7 separate regions of the Homo sapiens genome follow, and regions 2, 3, 4, 5, 6 and 7 are each linked to region 1. The links are contacts of gene promoters, found by promoter capture Hi-C in blood cells and fetal thymus (Javierre and others, 2016). All regions are on one chromosome and are shown on one strand. The core of a region is centred on a gene start or on the middle of the fragment in contact, and the rest is flanking DNA. Distances in the headings are between cores, read along the strand shown. Region 1 holds the start of H1-5 (H1.5 linker histone, cluster member). Region 2 holds the start of HCG11 (HLA complex group 11). Region 3 holds the start of BTN2A1 (butyrophilin subfamily 2 member A1). Region 4 overlaps HMGN4 (high mobility group nucleosomal binding domain 4). Region 5 has its middle 7.8 kb from the start of TRY-GTA3-1. Region 6 has its middle 1.9 kb from the start of TRY-GTA1-1. Region 7 overlaps LOC285819 (a long non-coding RNA gene).

Region 1 (3,583 bases), core at 502-3,001:
TGGAACGTTTGTTATGAAAAGATAAAGCATTTTTCATCTAGAGCTTAGGAATGACTTTTAGGAAAAACCTTACAGGATTCAGGTGACATGTTTAAGTCAGAATGTGAACTAGTTATTTAATGTAGGGCTTACAAGAATGTTCGCTGTGTTTATTCATCTCGTGTTATATGAACTAGAACCAATAAAAAAAAATCCAGAGCCAGGCTCAGTGGCTCACGCCTGTAATCCCAGCACTTTTGGAAGCTGAGGCGGGAAGATCGCTGGAGCTCATGAATTCGAGATCTGCCTGGGCATCATAGCGGATACAAAAATTAGCCGACCGGGGTGGTGCACGCCTTTAGTCCTAGCACTTCACAGAGGCTGAAGTGGGACGATCCCTTGAGCCGGGGAGGCTGAGGCTGTAGTGAGCCGAGACCACGCCACTGCACGCCAGCCTGGGTGACAGCGAGAACCTGACTTGAGGAAAAAAAAATAATCCAGTACAGAATGACACGGTCATATCAAATTGGCATGTAATAGAGACCCCATCTTGAAACTTGCTACTATATTGTCTTGTGCGTTGATAGCATATTATATTAATGCCGAACACATTAGTGACGCCGAAGTAGCTGGTGCCTAAATGGCTTAAACGCGGAAAAACCACATACAGATGATGGAACAAAAACTGGCCAATCAGATTATAGAGCGGGCTTTTTAAAATATAAGAAGCTTCTTTGTAGCTAGGCGTCTGACAAAAAGCTTGACACCAACTTAACAAAAACCAACGGCTGGAATTCATACTCTAATAACAGACTGCATGGGTAAACTACGTGGGGAGTCCAACCAACACCCTGGACTCTTGCTTGCCTTGCGTTACTCGATTAGGGTTGAGGGAGAACTGCCCGAGATTTTTCGAATGCAAGGAATCTTGCTGCCTGATCTAACATGTTGTGCACAGCCATTTTTTAGAGGTCTCTGGGTGGCTCTGAAAAGAGCCTTTGGGGCTTTGTTGCGGTTTTCACACGCCAGCTTCCTACTTCTTTTTGGCAGCCGCCTTCTTGGCCTTTGCAGCTTTAGGTTTTGCTGCTTTGGGCTTAGCGGCTTTGGGCTTTGCCGCCTTCGGCTTAACTGCCTTGGGCTTGGCAGGACTCTTGGTTGCCTTTTTCGGTTTGGCAGCGGCCTTGGCCTTCTTAGGGCTCTTCGCCACCTTTTTGACGCCAGCCGCCGCGGGCTTCTTCGCCTTCTTCGGAGTCTTCTTCACTGCCTTTTTCGCCCCTGCAGCCTTCTTGGCCTTCTTAGGCGTGGCCCCCGCGGGCTTCTTAGCTTTAGCGGCGCCTGCCTTCTTGGCTTTGGGCTTGGCTTCCCCGGAGGCCGCCTTCTTGTTGAGTTTAAAGGAGCCAGAAGCACCAGTGCCCTTGGTCTGCACCAGGGTGCCCTTGCTCACCAAGCTCTTGAGGCCCAGCTTAATGCGGCTGTTATTCTTCTCCACGTCGTAGCCACCGGCCGCTAAGGCCTTCTTAAGGGCTGCCAAAGAAAGGCCATTGCGCTCCTTAGAAGCAGCCACAGCCTTGGTGATCAGCTCTGAGACTGGGGGCCCCGTCGCTTTGCGCTTAGCAGCGCCGGCGCCGGCAGCCTTCTTAGTTGCCTTCTTCTTAGCCGGGGATTTCTCCACCGGCGCTGGGGTGGCTGTCTCGGCAGGAGCGGTTTCCGACATGGTGGCAAGAAACTGCTAGAAGAGAATAAGCTCGAAATCTAAAGAGCAGGTTTTGCGTTGCTGCTATGCTCGGGCCCCGGGCTTATATAAGCCGGCGCTGCCCTGTGATTGGTGGAGCGTCCAATCCACCGCCCTCTGGCCGCCGCCGCTCGCGGTTGGACTCCCAAATTGTGTTTGTTAGTCCTCAAAATTTGATTAAATGCTTAAAACAATGGTACAGAATTTGGCACTTTGAAGCTCCAAAGGAGGAAAACAGCCTCCAGGTTCACATACTTGTTTGTGTTTTCAAGAATCTTGTGCAATTGATGAAAGATATTTTAAAAAATCCCTTCAGCTTTTCATAAGAATCCATTGGGCTGAGGGCATCATGTTAGTTAGTAGCGTGTCGCGATAAATTTCTACTAAGTATCCAGTGAAAGTTATTTTTAAAAATTTGCCCATGAGTTCATGCTTTGATTTTTGCAAGAGAAAAGACACTGGGTTCCTTGGTTTGGGCATGAAGTTTGTTTCTAACTGTAGCAAGTAACACAGGCACAGGACAGCTGGTTGCCTACAGCCCCAACTTAACCACATAGACTTGACTTTACAAACTGGTTCTGTGTCCTAGGAGTTTCCATGTGCTAATGTCTTTACAGAATGGGATTTTGCAGCTTGGAAGAGTTCCACAGTCAGAGTGACTTCTTCTGCATTGCAGCACCAGTAATACAAATCGCTTTGACTTAAGGATCTAACTACTCAGATTCACATTCAAACTTAAATGTGTTATGTTTTCTAATTAGAGTGTTTTCTCTTTTTAGTTCCTGGGCAAATCCATTAAAAAAGGGGAAGAAAAATAATATAGATAATTCAGTTTAGAGAAAACTCAAACTTGTGGAAAATTATTCAAGAGCTCCCAGTGATCCTCAAATGCACAAACTGTTTAGGTGGCCCAGGACACTGTCAGGTTTTCGAAATGTTCTCACTGCTCCCCCTGAATCTCCACCCACATTTAACAAGCTGCACCATCAGGAATACTCTCTTCTATGAGCAGCCAGGATACATCAATATGGGTATTTTTGTGTGTTTTAGCGCTAATATTTTAGAAGAATATCTGGCTATTGACTGTGAAAAGGTTGGATTGGATATTGAGCGACTTCACATTATAGAGGTTCAGAGGAACTCAGGAAAACATAGGCAAATACACTGAGGTTGAAATAAATGAAGTTTACAATTTATGGGAGGTGGAGGGGATTGGACAGGATGCCTGGATGATAAAAATGATCAAATGATGATTTGGATTCCTAATGAAATCAACAGTCACTTATTTCTCATTCTTGAAATGCTGTGCAAGAAAATTTAAAGTAGCCAATGCACTTCATCTTCTAAGAACTCCTGGAGAAGTTGGCAGACTATGGCCAAATCTGGACAATGGCTTTTTTCTGTATGGCCCTCAAGCTAAGAAGTGTCTTTATGTTTTAAAAGTATTGTTAAAAAAAAAAAAAACAAAAACAAAGGCTGGGCACGGTGGTTCATGTCTGTAATCTCAGCACTTGGGGACACTGGGATAGGTGGGTTGCTTGAGCTCAGGAGTTGGAGACCAGCTTGGGCAACTTGGTAAAACCCCATCTTTAATAAAAATACAAAACATTTTGCTGGATGTGGTGGCACATGCCTGTAGTCTCAGCTACTCGGGAGGCTGAGGTGGGAGGATCACTTGAATTCAGGGTGTCAAGGCTGCAGTGAGCAATGATAGCAGCACTGCACTCCAGCCAGGGCAATGGAGCAAGATCCTGTCTCGAAAAAGCAAACTAACTAAAAACTAAAGAGTGTGTGACAGAGACTATATATGGCCTTTAAACCCTAAGCTATTTATTACCTAGCCCTTTTGCTGTGTTATAAATTTCTCCACAG
Region 2 (3,292 bases), core at 7-2,506, 1.3 Mb before region 1:
CTTTTTAAAGTTTTTATTACAGTATAACATCCACACCGAAAAGTGCGCAAATCCTCCATAAACTCCGACAGAGAGGCAAGACAAGCCAGGCTTCCCACGCTCCTGTCCCCTCCACCGGCCCTGCCAAGGGTAACCACGTGCTGGGAGATTTGCAGCACAACGCAAAGGAGAAGGATTAGCGAGCACCTTGTTCCAGCAAAAACTGGAGCAAGCCTAAAACTTCCTGGGAATTAAGTGTAAATTTAAGCCAGGTATTCTAGTAATGTTGAGTTCAACAGGATTGCCATTATTTTAACTAGAATTCAGTTGAGAGCAGAGCGCCATCGCCGTCTTCCGCCTTAGTCACTCGGCCCTGGGCTGGCTCACGCCCGCCCCGCCCCCTCCCCGCCCCTCCCACGCCCGCCCCGCCCCTCCCACGCCCCCGCCCCCGTCCCGCTCCCCCTACCCCGACCCGCCCTCCCTCGCCCGCCGCCCCACCCGCCGCAGCCCTCCCCGCGCAGCCTGGGAGTGACTCGGCGTTCACTCGGGAGACGCCGCTCTGTGGCCCGGACAACCGGTCCTATGCAGCGCCGTCCGAGGCAGTTCGCGGAGAGGCGGCTTACCTTTTAACCCAGGAATGCCCATATCTTGAGAAAAAGAACAACAAGGGGGTGGGCGGGGGTGGGGACATGGGGTAGGGGGGCGGCTGGTGGATGGGGAACTAATAGCGTTTAGACAAGAGACAGAAGTGAGTCCTGAGCACAATGTAGCATAAGCGCGTCAGGATGGCCGAGCGGTCTAAGGCGCTGCGTTCAGGTCGCAGTCTCCCCTGGAGGCGTGGGTTCGAATCCCACTCCTGACAGTTCGTACTTTTAGTATTTAGACACAAATCGAGTTTAAGTTTACGCTACGTTTTCCTACCTGCTCTTTGTGACATGGTCTTCTCTCTTTTTAAAAAATAAATTTTCCGAGTTCCGGAATAAAAGCACTCTTTGTTTTTATTAGCCACTCCAAGGACAGCAAAAAGTACTCTGTACTCCGAAAATAATTTCAGAACCTACCGGTGTTTTGAAATCTCACCTCCTTTTTCCGTTTCTCCTCTGTCTCTAGTTGTCTTTCCCTCTCCCTCCTTCACAGGCAGAGTTGAATAAATGTTACTCTTCAGTTCATGGCTCATTACATTACTGCAGGGCTCCTCTTTATTTAGTTATAGTTATCTTTTTAATTCCATTTCTTCAGTCTCATTCCCCACCTCATCCTTACTCCCCGTAAGAAATCACTGCAAGAGTTCCGGTCTGGCAGAGAGCGCGGAGAGACGCAGAGCGCGGGCCGCTCCTCCAGGGCGCTCCAGGCCCTCCGGCCCCGGGTCGGCGGGTGAGCTAGGGGGCGCCCCGGGACAGGCCGCGCCCTCTGCCCTGCAGATACCGGAGGCCTCTGCTGTGGCTGCCCACTGGCTGGGCCCAGGCCTTGAAGCGGTGGCGAACGTCTCTTCCCTACCCTACCTCGGTGACTGATGGCGGCGGCGGCCTCTCCCAGTCCGGACCCTGCCGGCCGTCGGGTCTCCCGGCCCAAGCCTGCCGGGCCTGGACGAAACCCCCGCCGAGCAGCCTGGACGCAGCGCCTTTGGGTGGCGGCGGGAGTAGCGTGCCGGGAAGCATGGCGGCCGCTCGAACGCCGCGCGGCGGAGGGCGTTAGGGCATGGAGGGCCCGGGAAGGCGGCCTAGGGACGCAGGCAGGCTCGGCCGCCTCTTCAGGCCACGGAGCCGCCAGATCTGGGTCCCGGGTGACCACTCTGTCGCCATTGGGCGAGACCTACCTAGTCCTAACGACAACGGACAAAGGCCTTAACGGGCCTGGGAGGTGAGCGAAGTCCCGAACGACGACGGGTGGAACGGTTAGCGGCGATCGGGCGGTTGGTCTCCGTACTACCAGACCTTGCTGTCGGAAGAGACAAATGGTAGAATGACAGGCCACGTTTGGCCCGTTGGAAATGCCCTCCATCCTCTGGGAAGATTCACAGGCCGTTTACGGAAGGCCTGTGTATATAATATGAAAAAGCTGCTCTCAACTCCACCCCAACCTTTTAATAGAAAACATTTGTCACATCTAGCCCTTCTAGATGGAAAGAGGTTGCCGACGTATGATAGAGTTAGAAAGTCACACATCTTGTAAATTCTCATTTGTTTAAAAGAAATCATAGAAAATACATGTCTTCCGGAGTTGACTTTTGGAAACTGAGTTGTTAGACGGCCTCTAGAAGCGATACGTTCACGTTTGTTCAGTGGGTTAGATGACATGGAGCTCGAAGACCTGAGAAGGAAAAAAAGAAGGTTCTATGCTAGACTGGTCATATTTAGAAGACATTTTCATATTCTATCCATTGTTTTGTGTGCATTCGCTTCCTCACTACTATGTATGTAGTTGACAATGCTAAGCTTTTTTGAAATGTCTATTCTTTTTAGATATTCTGAAGTGTCTGATATATGTTAAAATTAGAGGTAGTAAAACCACATTTTGTAAATATCTTTTTGTTACAATTCATAGAAATGTTGTTTTTTGGGGGGAATGGCCAAATCACCTGTTGAGTAATACTCATTGTGTTTGTGCAGTAGTTCAGGGGAGGAGAGAGGAGGGGGAGGTGCAGAGAGCTCTATGCCATCCTGCTTACAGCGAGGCAAGATGAATCACTATGTCTGTGCATTTTGTTTTATCTATGTATATAATGTACATAAAGGACAAACGAGTCCTAATTTACAACATCTAGTCTTTCTGGATGTTAAAGAGGTTGCCAGTGTATAACAAAACTAGAGTTAGTAAACTAATATATTTTGTACATTTTGTTTTACAAGTCCTAGGAAAGACTGTCTTCTGAAAATTTGAGCATTCTTGCCCACTGGGTTGATGGAGATGGGAAGGGTTCTAGGCCAGAATGTTCACATTTGGAAGACTCTTTCAAATTATAACTGTTGTTACATGTTTGCAGTTTATTCGAGACTGCTGTGTACATACATAGTGGACAAATTAACTCCTTACTTGAAACATTTAGACTATCTAGATGTTTAGAAGTGCCCGATGTATATTAAATGTAGAGGTAGTAAAATACCAATTTGTAAATATCTTTTTGCTAAAATTCATAGGAAATACTTTTGGAAGTTGAATTGTGAAGCCACCTTTGTGAGCAGTATATTACTGTCTATACTTGCTCAATGGTTTAGAGGAGGTGGGAGGGAAGAAATTGCAAAAGATAATATGCTAGTGTGTTCATACTTGGACATTTTCAGACACCATTTTTCTGTATGTTTTGTGCATTTTG
Region 3 (3,437 bases), core at 878-3,377, 1.4 Mb before region 1:
TATATTACCTTCACAGACTGTAGTTTATTGTAAAGCAAAAGGAAATCAATGCTTACCCTGTATCCTGGTTCTTCCAGGGTTGGCAGGTCCATAAAGAACCTTGCCAACGTGACCCTTCCTGTCTCTATCCCTCCCACTACAGAGCATGATTGGGTTAGGTTGTTACTATCTAACCGGGCACACCCCAGTAGAGCCTGATTTCTTTCTAAGCTACCCCATCGTCAACTGATCCTCTTCCTTCTCAGAACACACACGTTTCCCTCTAGCTCAGATCAACTTTGGCAGAGGCTGAAGCCTGGCTTAGCTGGATGCTTCTGGCAAAAGGGCTACTTCAAAGCCCTGGGCCTTATTTCTTCAGGTAAAAAAATATAAAGTCAGATCTCATCCTGGCTGGCCATGCTGTTAGACCCTTTCATCCTTCTCTTCTGCCTCTTCTCAACAGCTGCCCAGTCCTGTTTGGAATTCATATACATACAGTTCTAATACTGATGTATTTACCCTCATAAGCCACTCAACCCAGAATCTTATTTGAATTATAATCCAGAAACATCAGGTGACGTGTGAGACTACTGTATGAGAAAGAGACAGTTTAAGGGTCAGTCCAATGGAAAAAAGAGTTCTCAGAGCTTTCTTTAGCTTATTCTCATCAAAGAGCTTTCTCTGCAGAAGGAACCTACTGGTTCCTCCTTTCCAGTCCTAGAAATCCTGACCTAGAGTGGCTTAATCCTGCTAGCACCTCTCTCTCGCACTCTGGTGCCAAATGACTCCAGGAACTGGGCCATGATGTGGTGGGAATGACCTTACCCTGAGCATGTCACTCATGCATTGAACAACAGCTAAGAGCAGAGCTTAGAGCTTAGAGCTGGGCCCTGTAAGGTGAGAGGAATCACATCCTGCAGAAGTCTGTCCTGAGAAGCAGGTACTCCTGTCACAGCAGAGACACAGTGGATACCTGAGTAACAATAATACAAGACAGGACGTGGGAACAGCAAAAGATTTGGGTGTCAGAAGAGGCCGAGAACACTTCAGGCAGGAACATTCAGAGTTGTTCTTGGAGGAAGTAGGCACGAAGGCTGGGCAGGATTTCACGGGGCAGAGATGGAGCAAGCAATTGAAATGAAAGCCATGGCATGGGAAAAGGAGCACTGGCCACAGGGAGTGCAACGTTGTGATGCAAGGCCACTGTGGAGCCATTGCTAGCGTATTAACTGCAAAGTTTTGAATTGAATCAGAAGGGAATTGGAGGCCTCCAGACTAAGCATTTAGACACTTGAGGGGAATATTGACAACTGGGCCTCGGGAAGATTATTCTGGAAGATATCTTTACAATTACAAGATTGGAGCCTTTGGGAGAGGGATGATGTTTACGGGAGGATGGTATGTGTGCTAGTGTGTGTGTCTGTGTGTGGCTCTTGGACCCAACCTGACCACCTACTATCTAGAAGGTGAAGGACAACTAGAAAGTTTTGCTCAATTCCATCTTCTGCCACCACCAGAATGCCACCTCCCTGAGGGAAAAGGTTTTTGATCCTCAGTCAGGATTCTCAGCACCTCTTATCCGATAGCTTTGGAATGAATGGCAAGGCCTTCATAACAGCCACTGCAACTGCTGTCTCCTTTCCTTTGCTACCCCTCCCGCTCCAGCCATGCCAGCTTCCCCCAAGCCCTCCTGCGCTCCAGGCCCAACCTCCAAAGCCAGCAACTTGAACAGGAGTCCTCTGGCTTTGGAAAGGGGGCGGCTTACGTTTTCCTGCTCATGTTTCCTCCCCAGCAAAATTGCCCTCTACATAGAGAGGCCTCTCCTTGTGGACACCAGCAAAGCCACCGACCTCAGTGACAAACCCCAGGGAATCTCCCCAAGGAATCTCAAAGCGAGAGAGAGAGAGAGAGTCTTGAGAGAGAAAGAGAGAGAGAGAGAGTCTTGCTTTCGAACAAAGAAAAAGGAAATAAAAAGACCCGATAATCTCAAAAGGTTATTTGCTGCTTGAAATTTGTGATTCGGTGTATTCTACCCAGCAACTGCTGAGAAATAAGGTTCGACACCATTGGCTGGTTCACTCACACCCGGCCAATCCTGGGCTCTAAAATACTTAGGGAACTCTTGGGACTGTGGAAGCCCAGGAGACCAGATTTCGTTTCCTGCATCTCCAAACATGGCGACCTAGGAGAAGGGGAAGAACAATTTTTTCTCCTCTTTTGGGAAGGTTTGTGTCTAGTAGTGCCTGTGCCCCTGGGCAGATTGGAGAGAAGAGGGACGACTGGAGAATCGTCGAGAACCAGCGGAGAAAAGAAAAAGCAACGTTTAATTCTAGAAGGTAGGAAACGGAGGGGAGGCGCTACAGCTCCGGGGTGGGCACAGTAGGTGGGGGAAGCGGGGTCTGCTGTGGACACGAGACGGGGTCCTGGGACAGGGAAAGCCCACCGGTGGGGAGGCGCGGCCTCGCCTGTCTTTGCCTCAGGCTGCCCGGCCTGGGTCGCGGGGAGGAGGAAGTGAAGGGAGGAGGGTGTGGTAGAATCCAGCGACAACTGAAGAAACTGCATTCTGGCCAGAGAAGTGAGCCGAGGAGGGCGGAAAAAGGCCCCCTTGATCTTGGCATTGATGGCTTACTTCATGGAATGTTTAAGGAATCCCTCTCTCGGGACATACCTGAGCCTTCGGATGCAGGGGACTCCCTGAAGTTGGGGCACTGATGAGACCTACTTGAGTGACGGGAGAGGTTGGGCCCGACCAGCACTGAGGTGCCAAGACTCCTAGGCTGATTCTCCTCTGTAACCCTAGGCCTCCTGTCCCTGCCTGCTCTGGGTGCTCATGGAATCAGCTGCTGCCCTGCACTTCTCCCGGCCAGCCTCCCTCCTCCTCCTCCTCCTCAGCCTGTGTGCACTGGTCTCAGGTAGGGATGTGTGCCACTTGCTGCTGTCACCTATCAGAAAGGAACATCAACCCTGTAGTCTGCAAAGGGAAAGAAAGAAGGACTGTGGAGTTGTTGACTTACCCTTTCATTCTGAACATGTTCATTGAATTTATACCAGCACTGTCCAAAAGGAATACAGTGAGGCACAAAGGCCGAGTGCATGTACAATTGCAAATTTTCAAAAAAAATTAAATTTTACTTTTTATTTTAAAAAGTAAAAAGAAACATGAAATAAATTTGTATACTATATTTTGTTTCGCCCCAAATAATCAAATACGAATATTTAAATACTTAGTTAATATACCATATTACCAATGAGATAGTCAACATTTTGAAATTTTAAATCTTCATAATCCTGTGTGTATTTTACACTTACAGCTCATTTCAGTTGGAACTAGCTAGTGGATATGTGTCCTATTGCACGGCTCAAGTTTACAGTACACTCAGGCACAGCACTAGATTGGGAAATCGAGGAAAATCCCCTCAAGGGCACAGGGTGGACAGAGGGTGCTCAGGGCAGGTTCC
Region 4 (3,221 bases), core at 482-2,981, 1.3 Mb before region 1:
AGACTGTGTGAGCATTCTCACACCAGGAAATGGGCTGAGAAACAATTTTGGAGTGAGATGGAAGGAGAATGGTATGGAGTATCTATTCTTAGGGAAATGTGTGCTAGGCCAAAATCTCACTTTTTGGTTAAACACTCTCATTCTCTGATAACATAAAGGCCTCTAAAAATATATGCAGAATATTTGGGGTAACCTTATTATTCATTGCCCAAGTTAGGTCACCTTTCAAAGTAAAAGGGAACATTATGAATAATTATACTAGGGCAACAGGTATAAATCAAGTCACCCTACCATTAGACCAAGTGATTTTCACTGGTTCCTTCATTGTAAGAGTAACTCCTTTTGTTTCCTAAAAATTGTTAAAATGATTCCTTAATGTTGCATTTGAAATAAAGGGAAAAAGACAAAAATTAGCAATAAATTCATGTAATGTCTAGGCAAGGATTTCTTCAGAAGAGAGCAGGTCAGGTGTAGTTAGATCAGTAGAACTGTATGTCTCAGTGGCACCATTACCTTTTTTTTTTTTTTTTTTGAAGCAGAGTCTCACTCTGTCCCCCAGGCTGGAGTGCAGTGGCACAATCTCGGCTCACTGCAACCTCCGCCTCCCAGGTTCAAGCAATTCTCAGGTGGATCACCTGATGTCAGGAGTTCGAGACTAGCCTGGCCAACACGGTGAAACCCTGTCTCTAGTAAAAATACAAAAATTGGCTGGGTATGGTGGCGTGCGCCTGTAATCCCAGCTACCCAGGAGGCTGAGGCAGGAGAATTGCTTGAACCCGGGAGGCAGAGGTTGCAGTGAGCCGAGATCGCACCACTGCACTCCAGCCTGGGTGACAGAACGAGACTCTGAGACTCTATCTCAAAAAAAAAAAAAAAAAAAAAAAAAAACTGGAGCAATTTGGAGACAAGATTAAAAAAATAATAATAACATTGTAGAATGGTGGCCACTCACAAGGTTACAGAATTTCCCAGTAAATGTTTTCAAGGGTGGGGCAGAAGGTATGATAGACAAAAGCTTTAAAAAAGTCACACAGTGCCCATGAATGCCAGCCCTAGGCCTAAGTCCTAATTACTCAAACTCAAACTATTTTCCATTTCCTACCTGTGTGGCTCTCAATCTGTGCTCTGGGCTACCCACATTTTTTAGTACTTTTATTAATTCTTGAGCAGACACATACAATTTTTCTGTGTAAGACATAGGTAATACTCCAGCCATGTGCTTCCCCTACAGTTTAAAGAAGAGAATGCAACCTCCCCCATCTCTGGACTAACCTCCATGCCTTCTCCAACTACATCCCTTTCCCAACTCCCAAGAGATGACCACTGTCCAATTTTTATTTATCCCTTTTTTTTTAAGTTTTACTATATGTTTGTGGCCTCAACATGTCATAGTTTTACATGTGTAAATGGATCTATAGTGTACATATTCTTCTGCAACTTGCTATTTTTCTTCGGCATTATATTCTTGAGATTCATCCTCGTTTTTGAACCTACCTGTAATCTATTTGTTTCTGCTGCTGAATGGTATTCCCTTTTATACATACTACCAAAATATATGCATCCCTTCTACTATTGAAGGACATTTGGGTGATTTACAGGTTTTTGAAATTACAGTGTTGCTAGAAACATTCTTGTGGAGATCTCCTGTCCACACCTCCAAGAATCCCTCTAAGTAAACACCTAGAAGTAAAATTGCTTTACACAATACCACTGTTTGCAGAGTGCTTTACAAATAACCACTGTTTCCAAAAGCAAATACACTAATTGGCACACACACACAGCAGTACATAAGGGTTTTGATTGCTCCATATCAGCTGAGCCCTTGATATTGTCAGACAACTTGGTTTTCCTCAGTTTGATAGATATGAAATGTTATATCCTATGCTTTTAATATGTACTTCTTATATATTTTTAGGTGCTTATTCCTCACTCATGCTTCCAAGAAGTACCTGTTAACATTTTTTGCCATAGTTTTAAAATTTTCATTTTGTCCTTTCCTCATGGATCTATAGGAATGCTTTATGTATTCAGGATTCTAACATTTTGTCCATTATATATTTTACATATATCTTTGCCAAGCTGGTACTTATTGTTTTACTTTTATTATGCTATCTTTTTTGATATACACGAATTATTAACAATATAGTCAATTTGATTTTTAACGTTTACATTCGTCAGTCTTTCCCTTTATGGTTTACGCTTTTTGTGTCTTGTTAAAGACATCTTTCCAGGAACAGCGTGAGGAGGACAGAAGCACCCAACAGGACTGCTCAAGCCACCTGCGAACACTGCTGCTACCATGCCCAAGAGAAAGGCAAAAGGAGATGCTAAAGGTGATAAAGCAAAGGTGAAGGATGAGCCACAGAGGAGATCAGCTCGGTTGTCTGCTAAACCAGCTCCTCCAAAACCAGAGCCCAGGCCTAAAAAGGCCTCTGCAAAGAAGGGAGAGAAGCTTCCCAAAGGGAGAAAGGGGAAAGCAGATGCTGGAAAGGATGGGAACAACCCTGCAAAAAACCGAGATGCCTCTACACTCCAGTCCCAGAAAGCGGAAGGCACTGGGGATGCCAAGTGAAATGTACATTTTTGAGAGCTCTGTACTTATAGTGACTCTACTGTTTGAAATACTATTTTTTTAAATCAAGTTTTATAAAAGTGTAGAATTTTGGCTTTTTTAAGTTATGTTGTTAGCACACAGGACACTTCCTTGTTGTCTTTTGTGGAAAGGGCAAGTACCACTAATAGGGTGTATCTCAGAAACTGAATTGAAATAAGGGAAAATAGGATTTTCTGTCCTGGTTTTTGAAGATTGTTCTTGATTCCCTTGATTCCCAGGAGAGATTCTCTGACATTCACGTGTCAGCCACTTTGGCACGGAAGCCTTACAGTGTGGGGAACCAAAACTTCGTGTCTCCCCTTTCCCCGATGCCATCAGCATAGACTTGACTTCCTTAAACCGAGAGTTTTGATGTGGCCTTGGCAACCCTAAAATCAGCTGTGTTAGGTAACAAAACTCAGGCTTTCTGTTGATGACATCGAGATGGTGTCACTTAAAAGAGCCAAGATTCCTGTTTTCAGTTTGTGGATTCATCCTGCTGGTTTTACTTTAGTCCCTCCATGTCAAAGTGGGCCTGAGAAAAGCTCATACATGCCTCATGTGAAGTGTCCACCCTCTCTGAAAATCTTTCTTGTTCAAAACAGCAACGACATATCTTGTTAACTTT
Region 5 (3,361 bases), core at 352-2,851, 1.3 Mb before region 1:
TGCTCAATTCTTCTTGGTATATTTTCTTCATTTGGCTTCTGGGGCATCACACTCTCTTTGAGTTACTCATTCCTCATTGATAGCTTCTTCCTAGTCTTCTTTACTGGTTCTTCCTCTTCTCCCTGACTCCTTAATATTGTTTTTCTCCCCAGGCTTTAGTTCTTAGTCCTCTTCTGTTATCTATTTACACCCAATTCTTTCAGAGTCTCATCCAGAGTCATGAACTTAAACCTGTTTCTGTGCAGATAATTCACATTATTATATCTCCAGCCCAGACTCTCCCGCAAACTGCAGACTGATCCTACTGCAGTATTCCTACCTACTCATCATCTCCACTTAGAAGCTAATAATCATCAAAACTGGACTCCTTATCTCATTCCCTCCCAAATCTGTCGCACCCACAGTCACCCTCACTCCATTCCATCCTTCACAGTTCTCTGGTCAGATACCTGGGAGTCAGCCTGATTCTTCTTTGTGTCGCATTCCGCATCAATTTATTGGGTGATTCTGTTGCTTCTATCTTCACTACATATCCATGATCTTACAGCATCTCACCACTCTTACTGCCACAACTCCTTTTGGAGACATCGTAATTTTCGCCTGAATCAATCTTGCCTTCCTGCTTCTGCCCCTGACTACTTACCTATTCTTCCACAGCATATTGGATGACCTTTCAAAAACCTACTGTTTTTTTTCTGGGGTGGGGTGGGGTGGGGTGGTTTATTCAAGGATTTAGGGGCAAGTGGTTTAATCCAGAAAACACTGGTGTGGAAAAAACAAAGTGAAAAAGAAAAGAAAAGAAACCAAGGAATACCACTCTGGGCTATTCAAGCTTAATCCTTCTTAACCCCTCTTAATCCTCAGAGGAGGAACTCTGGGAAACAATGTTGAAAATATGCCTAAAAATGATCAAACTTCAAGGGTAAGGGAGCTGGGATAGTCATACACCATTTACCAAAAATTGCTTGGGAGCTATTCTAAACCTCCAATTCAGTGGAACATCTGGCCTGCCATGAATGTGGGCAAAGTGTGATCAGCAGGTGGGGAAAGCTCTCATGCGATAAGATGCAAGTACCGGCAGGTAGAAATCAGCCTGGTGGACATTGACATGGTGAAGGTCAGGGGGATATGGGGGGGGCTTCTTGGTGGGATGCCAGAGGTAATATGGTGAGGCTCCAACATCTTCAATGTGGAGTTGATCCTTGATCCTTGGTCTTCAAAGTTGGTCAGTGGCCAGGTGCCGTGGCTCATGCCTGTAATCTTAGCAGTTTCTGAGGCAGGTGGATCACTTGAGGTCAGGAGTTCAAGACTAGCCTAGCCAACATGCTGAAACCCCGTCTCTACTAAAAATACAAAAATTAGTCGGGCGTGGTAGCACATGCCTGTAATCCCAGCTACTAGGGAGGCTGAGGCAGGAGAATCACTTGAACCCGCGAGGTGGAGGTTGCAGTGAGCCAAGATCACACCACTTCACTCCAGCCTGGGCAAAAGAGCGAAACTCCATCTCACGTACACACACAAAGTAATAATAATAGTAATAATAATAATAAAATAAAAGTTGGTCAGTGGTCAATACATTTTCCAGGTCATTCCTGGGAGAATAAACAGTTTAAAAAAGGCTCAGATATCTTAGAGAGCCTGAGATGTTCCTAGAACTGAAACCAGTGTTGTACAAAAGGAACACTGATGTTGAAGAACTACTGCTGGATTAGAAGGAGTTAGGAGTATTAGGAAGCCCTACCTGCCATTGGGAATAAAAGTAGAAGATAAGACAATGATCAGGTTCCTTGTAGCTATTTTAGCCATGAAAATAGAAACTTTAGACCAGATACAGCATGCATATATAAGATAGTCATGTAACTTTCCATTGAATGTGATGCTCAGTCTATTTACTAATAATAATTAGGCATAAAACTCAACATTAAGAAATGATCTCGCATGGTAATTTTCAGGTGCAGCAAGGATTTAAGAGGCTAAGATTTTATGATTCATGCTACAATTTTCTATTTGTCTTAGGGAAGATCTGTCCCCAAAGAAGCAAATGGTTGGTAGAAGTTATGAGGGAAAAAGGAAAGCAATCTGAATTGTGGGTGCTGTGGCAAGGGAGAAAAGGAGAAAAAGGACAGTCACTATGGCTGCATATGGGGCCAAGAGACAGAGCAGGTGAAATGCCTCTTGTGTCTAATAATTATTTTTGCTGTAATCCTAATGACTGAACTTTCCAGGCTTGAAAAACTGCCATAGTATTTTAAAATCCCAATCTTAGATCTGTGTTCATTCTAATTTTGAGATTTTTACTACTTTTAGCTCAATACATTTAAATGTTCTAGAATTCTACCACAAAGAACCAAAGAAACTTTAGACATTTTCCTAAGCTTATCATAATATAAAGTGATATTAGGCTGTACGTAGACCACTGGCAATACTTCACTAAGCTTTTTCTTGGGATATGTTGATATTAATATATTAAAATATATATGTATATTTAAAAACCTGTTTTCTATGAACACTTTTAGCATACCTCTTAGTGCTCAAGTTCACACAATTTTGTTGGATATTTACCTAGAAAGGAATCTGGTCTTCTTAATGAATTCATACTTCTGAATTTCCTGGATGTATCCATCTGGATACATTAGCTTATGCTGCAATAATAAGTAATTCCTCTCCCCCACGCCAAATCATACTGGCTTATAACCATAAACTCCTATTTCTGTGTCATAAAAATCTATCATGATTTGGTTGGTGGTCTCTATTTCACTAATAAACCCTGATTTGTAGATCCTCTACAATCAAAATAATCAATTATTTTGTCAAGGTAAGGTAAAAAGGGACCCGATAGATTGCTCACTGACTCTCAAACATCTGGAAGGGACACCTCATTTTCCAGAACAAATGTGTCATATGTCCACATCTATTTCTGAGGAAGTAAGAACTACAATCTGCACATGCTACGTTACTAGAAGACTGTGGATCAGAATGACCATATGACCATCACAGAGCACCATAGGGCCACCAATTATTCTGGCTGCTCTCCTTCCTAAAAGCCAAATACATTTAGCTTTTCCCTATGGGAGACAACACAAAGGTCCATTAGAACATGGGCCAGTTGGAAGTCTAGCATCTCTGAACCATGGTGGTCCCTCCATTGATGAAGGATTGCAGTAGTTTCTATGTTGATTTTCATAAAAGCAGCTAGGCAAGTTTCCCAAATCTGAAACTTAGTGCAATAAAAAATATTGTACATAATATGAAAACATCAGAACAAAAGCATTGGAGACAAAATATGGTGAAAACAAACGTATTGTTGTATAATACGTTAGAACATAATTATTATGGGTAAAAGAACAAACAGTTCTTTTAG
Region 6 (3,359 bases), core at 620-3,119, 1.3 Mb before region 1:
ACAAATTCTATTTAATTTGATATTCACAACTATCCCCTTAGGATCTGTATTACCTTCATTATCATCATCTCCATTTTGTATAAGGCATGAGGAAGTTAGGGAAGTCATACTACTAGTGAGACATAGATTCAAAGGTGGACTAAGTGGCTCCAATACCTCTCTGTGTTCTTTCCATTACATCATACATACGAGTAAATAGCCTGTCCATGTTGCTGTAACTTCTACTACCAAAATTCATTATTTACTTTTAAATTGTGTTCAAAAGGGTCTATGTATACAATTAGTTCAATACATATTTACTTTTTAGGAAGCATTACAGTACAGTTACTGTTGAAACACATGCCACAGAAATTGGTTCTTCACTCACTCCCGAGGGACCCAAGCAGCCTCCACTTGGGGTTCTTCCGGCGTTATCTGGCGCTGCTGCACCACGTCCTCCCCTACACGTGGAGGTCGGTGGTGCGATTTCCTCACCCTCAAGGGACTCAAGGGACCACGCGCTCGCAAAGAACCCAGGGCCTCTTCCATCAGCTCGCAGCAGGTACGCAGTAAACCTTTACCGAATGAATGAATGGAAATCAAATCTGCGAATTAACTGCATGTTAGTTTGCCACATGGGCTGCATTTTAAAATTTTATTTATTTATTTACTTATTTTTATTTATTTTTTTTGAGACGGAGTCTCGCTCCGTCGCCCAGGCTGGAGTGCAGCGGCGCGATCTCGGCTCACTGCAAGCCCCGCCTCCCAGGTTCGCGCCATTTTCCTGTCTCAGCCTCCCGAGTAGCTAGGACTACAGGCGCCCGCCACCATGCCCGGCTGTATTTTTAGTAGAGACGGGGTTTCACCATGTTAGCCGGGATGGTCTCGATCTCCTGACCTCGTGATCCGCCCGCCTCGGCCTCCCAAAGTGCTGGGATTACAGGCGTGAGCCACCGCGCCCGGGGGGAACTTCTTTTAATGGTGCCAATCTTATGGACCTCAGACACCTCTCAGTGAGAACTTGCTGGCATTTTGTGTGGAGAACAGAACCGAGGGGACCAATCTGGACAAGGGGAGCCAATTAGAAAACTGCAGGCCCAGGATTATCTTATTTTCATTCTCTAGAGCAGAGTTTCAATAGAGCGCTATTGACATTTTGGACTAGATATTATAATTCTTTGTTGTGGGGGCTGTTCTATGCATTACAGGATGTTTACTAGCATTCCTGTTCTTTACCTACTACATTCCTCAGTCACAACAATTTACCTACTATATTCCTCAGTCACAACAATTAAAAATGTCTTCTTACATTGTCAGATGACCGTTGTGAAGGCAAAATTGCTCCATTAGAGAAATTACTGCTCCACGAGTATGTACCATTGTTTTGGCTTACTATTTATTTTTGAGACAGGGTCTGGCTCTGTCGCTCAGGCTGCAGTGCAGTGACGTGACACAATCATAGCTCACTGTGGCCTCACACTCTTTGGCTCATGGGATCCTCCCTCCTCAGCCAGTCCCAGTAGCTGGGACTACAGGCCCCCGACCACTACGACCCGCTAATTTTTGTATTTTTTGTAGAAACAGGGTTTCACCATGTTGGCCATGGCTGATCTCGAACTCCTGGTCTCAAGAGACTTAGCTGCCTCAGGCTCCCAAACTGCTGAGATTACAGGCCTGAGCCACCAAGCCCGGCCTAGTTTACTATTTATTGATTAGGGTAGTTTTTCAGCTTTGTAAGGGAACGTCGTGATGTGGTGATGCAAATGAACTTCGTCTGATATTTAGTTATTTTCCGTCCTGTAGAAACAGTACAGTTTTATTGTCCTGTAAGGCAGTTTCCAGTTCTCTACCTCACTTAGCAATGTTAATTTACAGCATTGCTTCTTTCAGTGACTATCAATAAATTCTTCGATCCAGTTTTACCAGTTTTACCATCTTGATGATTCCCTCATTAGTGAATTAAACCTTTGACAAGTGTTTATTTCATATTCGTATATGAATCATGCATTTAACCGTTTGAAAAGTGTATTTTGACCAAATGTATAAAAGTAAATACATCTGTGAAATAGGATAACTTATTCAGGCAATTGAGGTTGGAGAGGAGATAAAACATTACATTTAATTCATCGAGACTCGCCCCACTCAAATAAATGTTTCATGGACTTGAGGAGATTAATGGCCAAGTTAAATGTACTTTCAATTTTTGTTCAGAAAAGAAAAAAAAAATCTGTGTGCCATAAAGGAGTGAACATTGGGCTCAATGGCCTACTTGCACAAGAAGGATCATTTGCCCTGTGCATGTTTCATTATATGACAAGGTAATTATCTTTAATGGAACATGAAAAAGAATGAAACAGATTTTTTTTTCTCTTTTCTTTTTTTTTTTTTTTTTTTTTTTTTTGAGACGGAGTCTTGCTCTGTGGAGTGGCTGGAGTGCGGTGGCAACATATCTGCTCACTGCAACCTCTGCCTCCTAGGTTGCAGTGATTCTCCTGCCTCGGCCTCCCGAGTAGCTGGGATTACAGGCGCCCACCACCACCACGCCCGGCTGATTCTTGTAGTTTTAACAGAGACAGGGGTGTCACCATTTTGGCCAGGTTGGTCTCGAACTCCTGACCTCAGGTGATCTCCCCGTCTCGGCCTGCTGAAGTCCTGGGATTACAGAGGTAAGTCACCGCGCCGGGCCATAATGAAACAGATTTCGGATGCCAGATTCCACCACAAGTGGATTTTTTCATTAACAAGGGAGGATAATAGCTATTCTGAGCTTCAGAGTCATAGAAAGCTAGACAAGAATCTTACACTTTGCAAAACTAATATTTGAAATGATATTACCTTGTGTTAATCATTTAAAAATGTATCATTTTAGCACACCCATGGATAGGTTTTTGCTGAGTTAAGAATTAATGTGATGGCCAGCTGCTGTGGGCTCACGCCTATGATCCTAGGGCTTTAGAAGGCCAAAACGGGCGGATCACTTGAGGCCAAGAGTTCGAGACCAGCCTGGCCAACATGGCAAAAATCACAACTCTACTAAAAATATAAAAATTAGGCGGGCGTGGTGGCTTGCGTTTGTAATCCCAGCTGCTCGAAGGCTGAGGCGGGAGAACGGGAGAATCGCTCGAACCTGGGAAGCGGAGGTTGCAGTGAGCCGATATCGCGCCACTGCACTCCAGCCCAGGCGACAGAGCGAGACTCTGTCTCAAAAAAAAAAAAAAAATTATTATGCTTTCGAAGTTGCATTATTTAGCCTGCTCTTCCTTCTCTTCCTCCTGTCAGTTATCTCAATAAAATCCCATTAAAATTGCATTGTTAAAGTGTTTCAAATTCTATTTTTAGGTAGAGGTTAAAATTGGTTATATAATGCATTCATCACAACA
Region 7 (3,375 bases), core at 10-2,509, 1.4 Mb before region 1:
TCCAAAACAAAAGATGATAATATCCTCCATGTAACAATTACATGCAAGGGGATGTCTGCAAACTGCCACAGTATCATTTTAATTAATACCTATCTTCTCTTCTTAAAATCTTTTCATTTTTCCACTCAGTTCTCCTGATATTTCTGTTATGATATAAAAGACAGCTGAATGTGAAGAAACACTGATTGTACACGTAACACACACATTAATGATTCAAATATGTAAACACAGAGAGCTGCAAACACTTTGAGAGGTAGGGCTGAAACTTTTCGTCAATGTGTACAATTCAATATCGTTTCAGTTTTCATTCTAACCGTCCCCAGTGGCTTCTGCCCAGCAACTGATGAGAAATGGTACCTCTGAGCCAATCAAAACACGAATTCCTACAAAGAGGATTCTCTTAGTGTTTCTCGGACCGAGTGTACAGCACATGCTTTCTTTTCCTTTATTCTGGATCAGAGAATCTTAACTAAAGCAGAAATAATTGTGTTAAATTAAACTAAATTTGGTATGAGATATGTATACATTTAGCCTGAGGGATGGCTCTTGAGCCCTTAAATAATGAACTGCAACCTAACTTAGTATGTAAACTAACTGAAAGCTTAAGGCATGGGAGTATACTTTTGTAACAAATAGCTGAGTCTCAGCCAATCCCAGTAGCCGAACTTCAGTCGGCGGCAGTCAACCCTGCAGCCAAGTGATCAGACTATGTTCAAATAAGGCCAACTCTGAGCTGTAACCAATTAAGCTGTTTCTGTGTGTCACTTCCCTTGTGGAATGGAGCTCACTGAACCTCTCTGATGGCTGCCCGATCGTTCTGATGGTTTGCAAATTGTTCTTTGTTCAAATTAAACCCTGCTAAATTTAATTTGTCTAAAGTTTTTATTAACAACAGAAAACTATTGATTACCTTTTTTTGTGGGCTATGATTTTCAGATAGGAATATTAAGGAGTAAGTGGGGAAAATTGCTTAGAGCCAGGGCTACAAGGCCTGGAAGAAAAGGGACTGAAAAGCTGAGAGGGGAACTGGCACAGAGAAAGGGGTGAGGATGGAGAGGGTAGAATGCAAAGAGTAAGGACCTGAAGAGGCTGAGATTTGGCTGAAGAGGGACAACCTGAATAGAGAAACCTTCCAACTGCATGTTCTTAGGAACTAATTACAGTCAGAAAGGAGCAAAGACTCCTTTTTTTTTTTTTTGTCAGAGTCTCACTGTTGCCCAGGCTGGAGTGCAGTGACACAATCTCGGCTCACTGCAGCATCCACCTTCCCAGCCAAGCAATTCTCTGGCCTCAGCCTCCGGAGTAGCTGGGAATACAGGCATACGCCACCACACCTGGCAAATTTTTTGTATTTTTAATAGAGACGGGGTTTCACCATGTTGGCCAGGCTGGCCGGCCAGGCTGGTACTGAACTCCTGACCTCAAGTGATCCACCCACCTTGGCCTCCCAAAGTGCTGTGATTACAGGCATGAGCCACTGCCCCCAGCCAGGAGACGAAAAGACTCCTAAAATATCTCCTGGTTATGTTTAGGAACATATTCCAAAAGGTTCTAAAAAGAGATGTGCCTTAAAGATTCATATGTATATTGTAAATTTTCAACTCCATATTTTCTAGATGTCCCCAACATCCCCACAACAGCCCGTCAACACCCTGCCCAGGTGACCAAGTACACCAGTGCAACAGGGCTGGTTCCTGCCTGCTTGCCCTTGCTTAACTGTGACCTAGTGACCTCCTCCCATCTTTTGATCTTTATTCCTCTAGTTCACTTCCTTTGTCACTATCTCTCCACCCACACCTACTTGCCTTAATCACCTTAACAGCAAAGGCTGAATTATTGTAAACAAAAGGAGTCTGTCTTTTTAGTGCATGGGTCCCCAAGTATGTATATATGAATATGCAATGAACCCCAGGATACTAAGCTTCACTTAAGGATTTTTTCCTACAAGGACTCAGCTGTCACATTTGGGGGCATTTTGTTTTGTTTTGTGAATGTTTAACCAAGCTAATGGAGGAACTATTGGTACAATGAACTCAAAAAATGTACAGGATCAGCAGGGCATAGTGGCTCACGCCTGTAATTTCAGCACTTTGAGAGGCTGAGTTGGGAGGATCACTTGAGCCCAAAAGTTCAAGATCAGACTGGGAAACATAGTGAGACTTCATCTCTAAAAAATTAAAATAAAATAAAATAAATACAAGGAAAAAAGAAAAATGTACTGGATTGAGGGGAAAAATTTATGATGCAAACAGAAGAGCATTTATGATTGAAGTGAGAGAAGGATAATGGGGGAGGATGGTGAAAGAACATCAATCTAAATTTATATTTAAATTTACATGAATCCAGTGCAGGCAGCATCTCAGGGGAGGGAGGAGTCTATTTTTCTGTTGATTTCCTGGGCTAAATTCCTGACTGACTCATTGCTGAAAGTAAATAACATATTATTATAGTTGAAAGATTTTTTTTTAGTGTAGTGATTTCAAACTGTGCTCATTTATATGCAACCCATGAACGCCTCCCTTCTCCTATGTCTCCTTTTGAGTTGTAGGGCCAGTTTGAAGCTTTATATATCATTTACCAAACTTAGGGTGGTGAGTGGGTGCTGATGGCAGCCTGGTTTGAAAATCTCCACTGGAGAGAAGACACAGCAGGATTCAGATGCAAATGACCAGAGCACTCCAAGTTGGAAAGAACTGCTGAGCGGGTCTGTAGAGCCCATCGCTCTCTCCTGTCTATTCATCAGCTAGGCTGAAGCTCCTGACAGACTCACACCAGTATCTTGCTGCTCCAGAAAGGTCGAAGATGGCAGTTTTCCCAAACTCCGGCTTGCCCAGATGTCTGCTCACCCTCATTCTTCTCCAGCTGCCCAAGCTGGTTTCAGATAGGTCTCTCTCTCTGGCCTGCAGAGTTAAAACATCTCAATAAATATAAAGTATAAAAAGAAGCTGGAGCCCAACCACTTCGGCACATGTTCACAGGATCTCGGGGCTGTGTCACAAGCCACTGGGCACTCATATCTGGCTGAGAATAAATCTCTTGCAATATTTTACAGAGTTTGACTCTTTTTGTTTGACAAAATAAATTCAACTCATAACTGCTGAGTTTGGGCTCTGGGCTGTGGAGTTGTCTGGAAATGGGTGCTGGGCTCCCACTGCTGCCTTTCACTCAAGGCCCCCAGATATAGCAACCATCTCTTAGTATGTAAAGATCTGATCTCAAATCATCAGGAGCTTCCAGGTTATTTCATTTTCCTTTTTTTCTCTTCTTTTCACCGATGTTTGACGTCCAGGTTATTTCTAAGGTGACAGAAAGAAGCAGAACACTTTCTTGTGCCTGATTGATCAGTTGATGTTTTGTAGGCGATAGGATTCAGAT

What was found. The method cuts DNA at HindIII sites, captures the fragments that hold promoters and counts their contacts. A CHiCAGO score of 5 or more calls a contact.
Region 2: a contact is called between the fragment with the promoter of HCG11 here and the fragment with the promoter of H1-5 in region 1, in 6 of 17 cell types (neutrophils, non-activated CD4 T cells, activated CD4 T cells and 3 more). The highest score is 7.8, in neutrophils.
Region 3: a contact is called between the fragment with the promoter of BTN2A1 here and the fragment with the promoter of H1-5 in region 1, in 5 of 17 cell types (non-activated CD4 T cells, monocytes, M2 macrophages and 2 more). The highest score is 6.7, in non-activated CD4 T cells.
Region 4: a fragment that was not itself captured here is called in contact with the fragment with the promoter of H1-5 in region 1 in 2 of 17 cell types (fetal thymus and M0 macrophages); the score reaches 6.4 in fetal thymus.
Region 5: a fragment that was not itself captured here is called in contact with the fragment with the promoter of H1-5 in region 1 in 6 of 17 cell types (M0 macrophages, total B cells, naive B cells and 3 more); the score reaches 7.6 in M0 macrophages.
Region 6: a contact is called between a fragment that was not itself captured here and the fragment with the promoter of H1-5 in region 1, in 2 of 17 cell types (naive CD8 T cells and fetal thymus). The highest score is 6.4, in naive CD8 T cells.
Region 7: a fragment that was not itself captured here is called in contact with the fragment with the promoter of H1-5 in region 1 in 5 of 17 cell types (fetal thymus, M0 macrophages, monocytes and 2 more); the score reaches 13.8 in fetal thymus.

What each region holds. Positions count from the first base shown.
Region 1 is chr6:27,865,837-27,869,419 of GRCh38, forward strand. H1-5 (H1.5 linker histone, cluster member) reads right to left here and starts at 1,752. Exons shown (of 1, transcript NM_005322.3): 1 at 956-1,752. The coding sequence starts at 1,693. The coding sequence ends at 1,013. RefSeq lists enhancers at 1-20, 1, 1,572-1,681, 1,942-2,011. The HindIII fragment of the contact is 3,270 bases long and covers 737-3,583 here.
Region 2 is chr6:26,520,450-26,523,741 of GRCh38, forward strand. It overlaps HCG11 (HLA complex group 11), which reads left to right and starts at 1,257. Exons shown (of 1, transcript NR_026790.1): 1 at 1,257-3,292. TRL-CAG1-7 (tRNA-Leu (anticodon CAG) 1-7) reads left to right here and starts at 759; the gene lies at 759-841. LOC107986583 (a long non-coding RNA gene) reads right to left here. Exons shown (of 4, transcript XR_001744057.3): 1 at 1,060-3,292. RefSeq lists silencers at 363-962, 1,193-1,712. The HindIII fragment of the contact is 10,867 bases long and covers 1-2,412 here.
Region 3 is chr6:26,455,828-26,459,264 of GRCh38, forward strand. It overlaps BTN2A1 (butyrophilin subfamily 2 member A1), which reads left to right and starts at 2,128. Exons shown (of 8, transcript NM_007049.5): 1 at 2,128-2,315; 2 at 2,780-2,891. The coding sequence starts at 2,810. RefSeq lists enhancers at 1,739-1,998, 2,159-2,318. The HindIII fragment of the contact is 11,033 bases long and covers 1-3,437 here.
Region 4 is chr6:26,542,908-26,546,128 of GRCh38, forward strand. HMGN4 (high mobility group nucleosomal binding domain 4) reads left to right here. Exons shown (of 2, transcript NM_006353.3): 2 at 2,220-3,221. The coding sequence starts at 2,300. The coding sequence ends at 2,572. Among named protein-coding and RNA genes, the nearest start is that of HMGN4, 6.2 kb to the left of the region's middle. The HindIII fragment of the contact is 1,437 bases long and covers 1,014-2,450 here.
Region 5 is chr6:26,583,239-26,586,599 of GRCh38, forward strand. No RefSeq gene overlaps it. Among named protein-coding and RNA genes, the nearest start is that of TRY-GTA3-1, 7.8 kb to the left of the region's middle. The HindIII fragment of the contact is 1,543 bases long and covers 831-2,373 here.
Region 6 is chr6:26,565,239-26,568,597 of GRCh38, forward strand. No RefSeq gene overlaps it. Among named protein-coding and RNA genes, the nearest start is that of TRY-GTA1-1, 1.9 kb to the right of the region's middle. The HindIII fragment of the contact is 6,863 bases long and covers 1-3,359 here.
Region 7 is chr6:26,473,574-26,476,948 of GRCh38, forward strand. It overlaps LOC285819 (a long non-coding RNA gene), which reads right to left. Exons shown (of 4, transcript NR_038992.1): 3 at 2,579-3,375. It also overlaps a transcript of BTN2A1 not described here. Among named protein-coding and RNA genes, the nearest start is that of BTN2A1, 17 kb to the left of the region's middle. RefSeq lists enhancers at 262-311, 3,368-3,375. The HindIII fragment of the contact is 1,320 bases long and covers 600-1,919 here.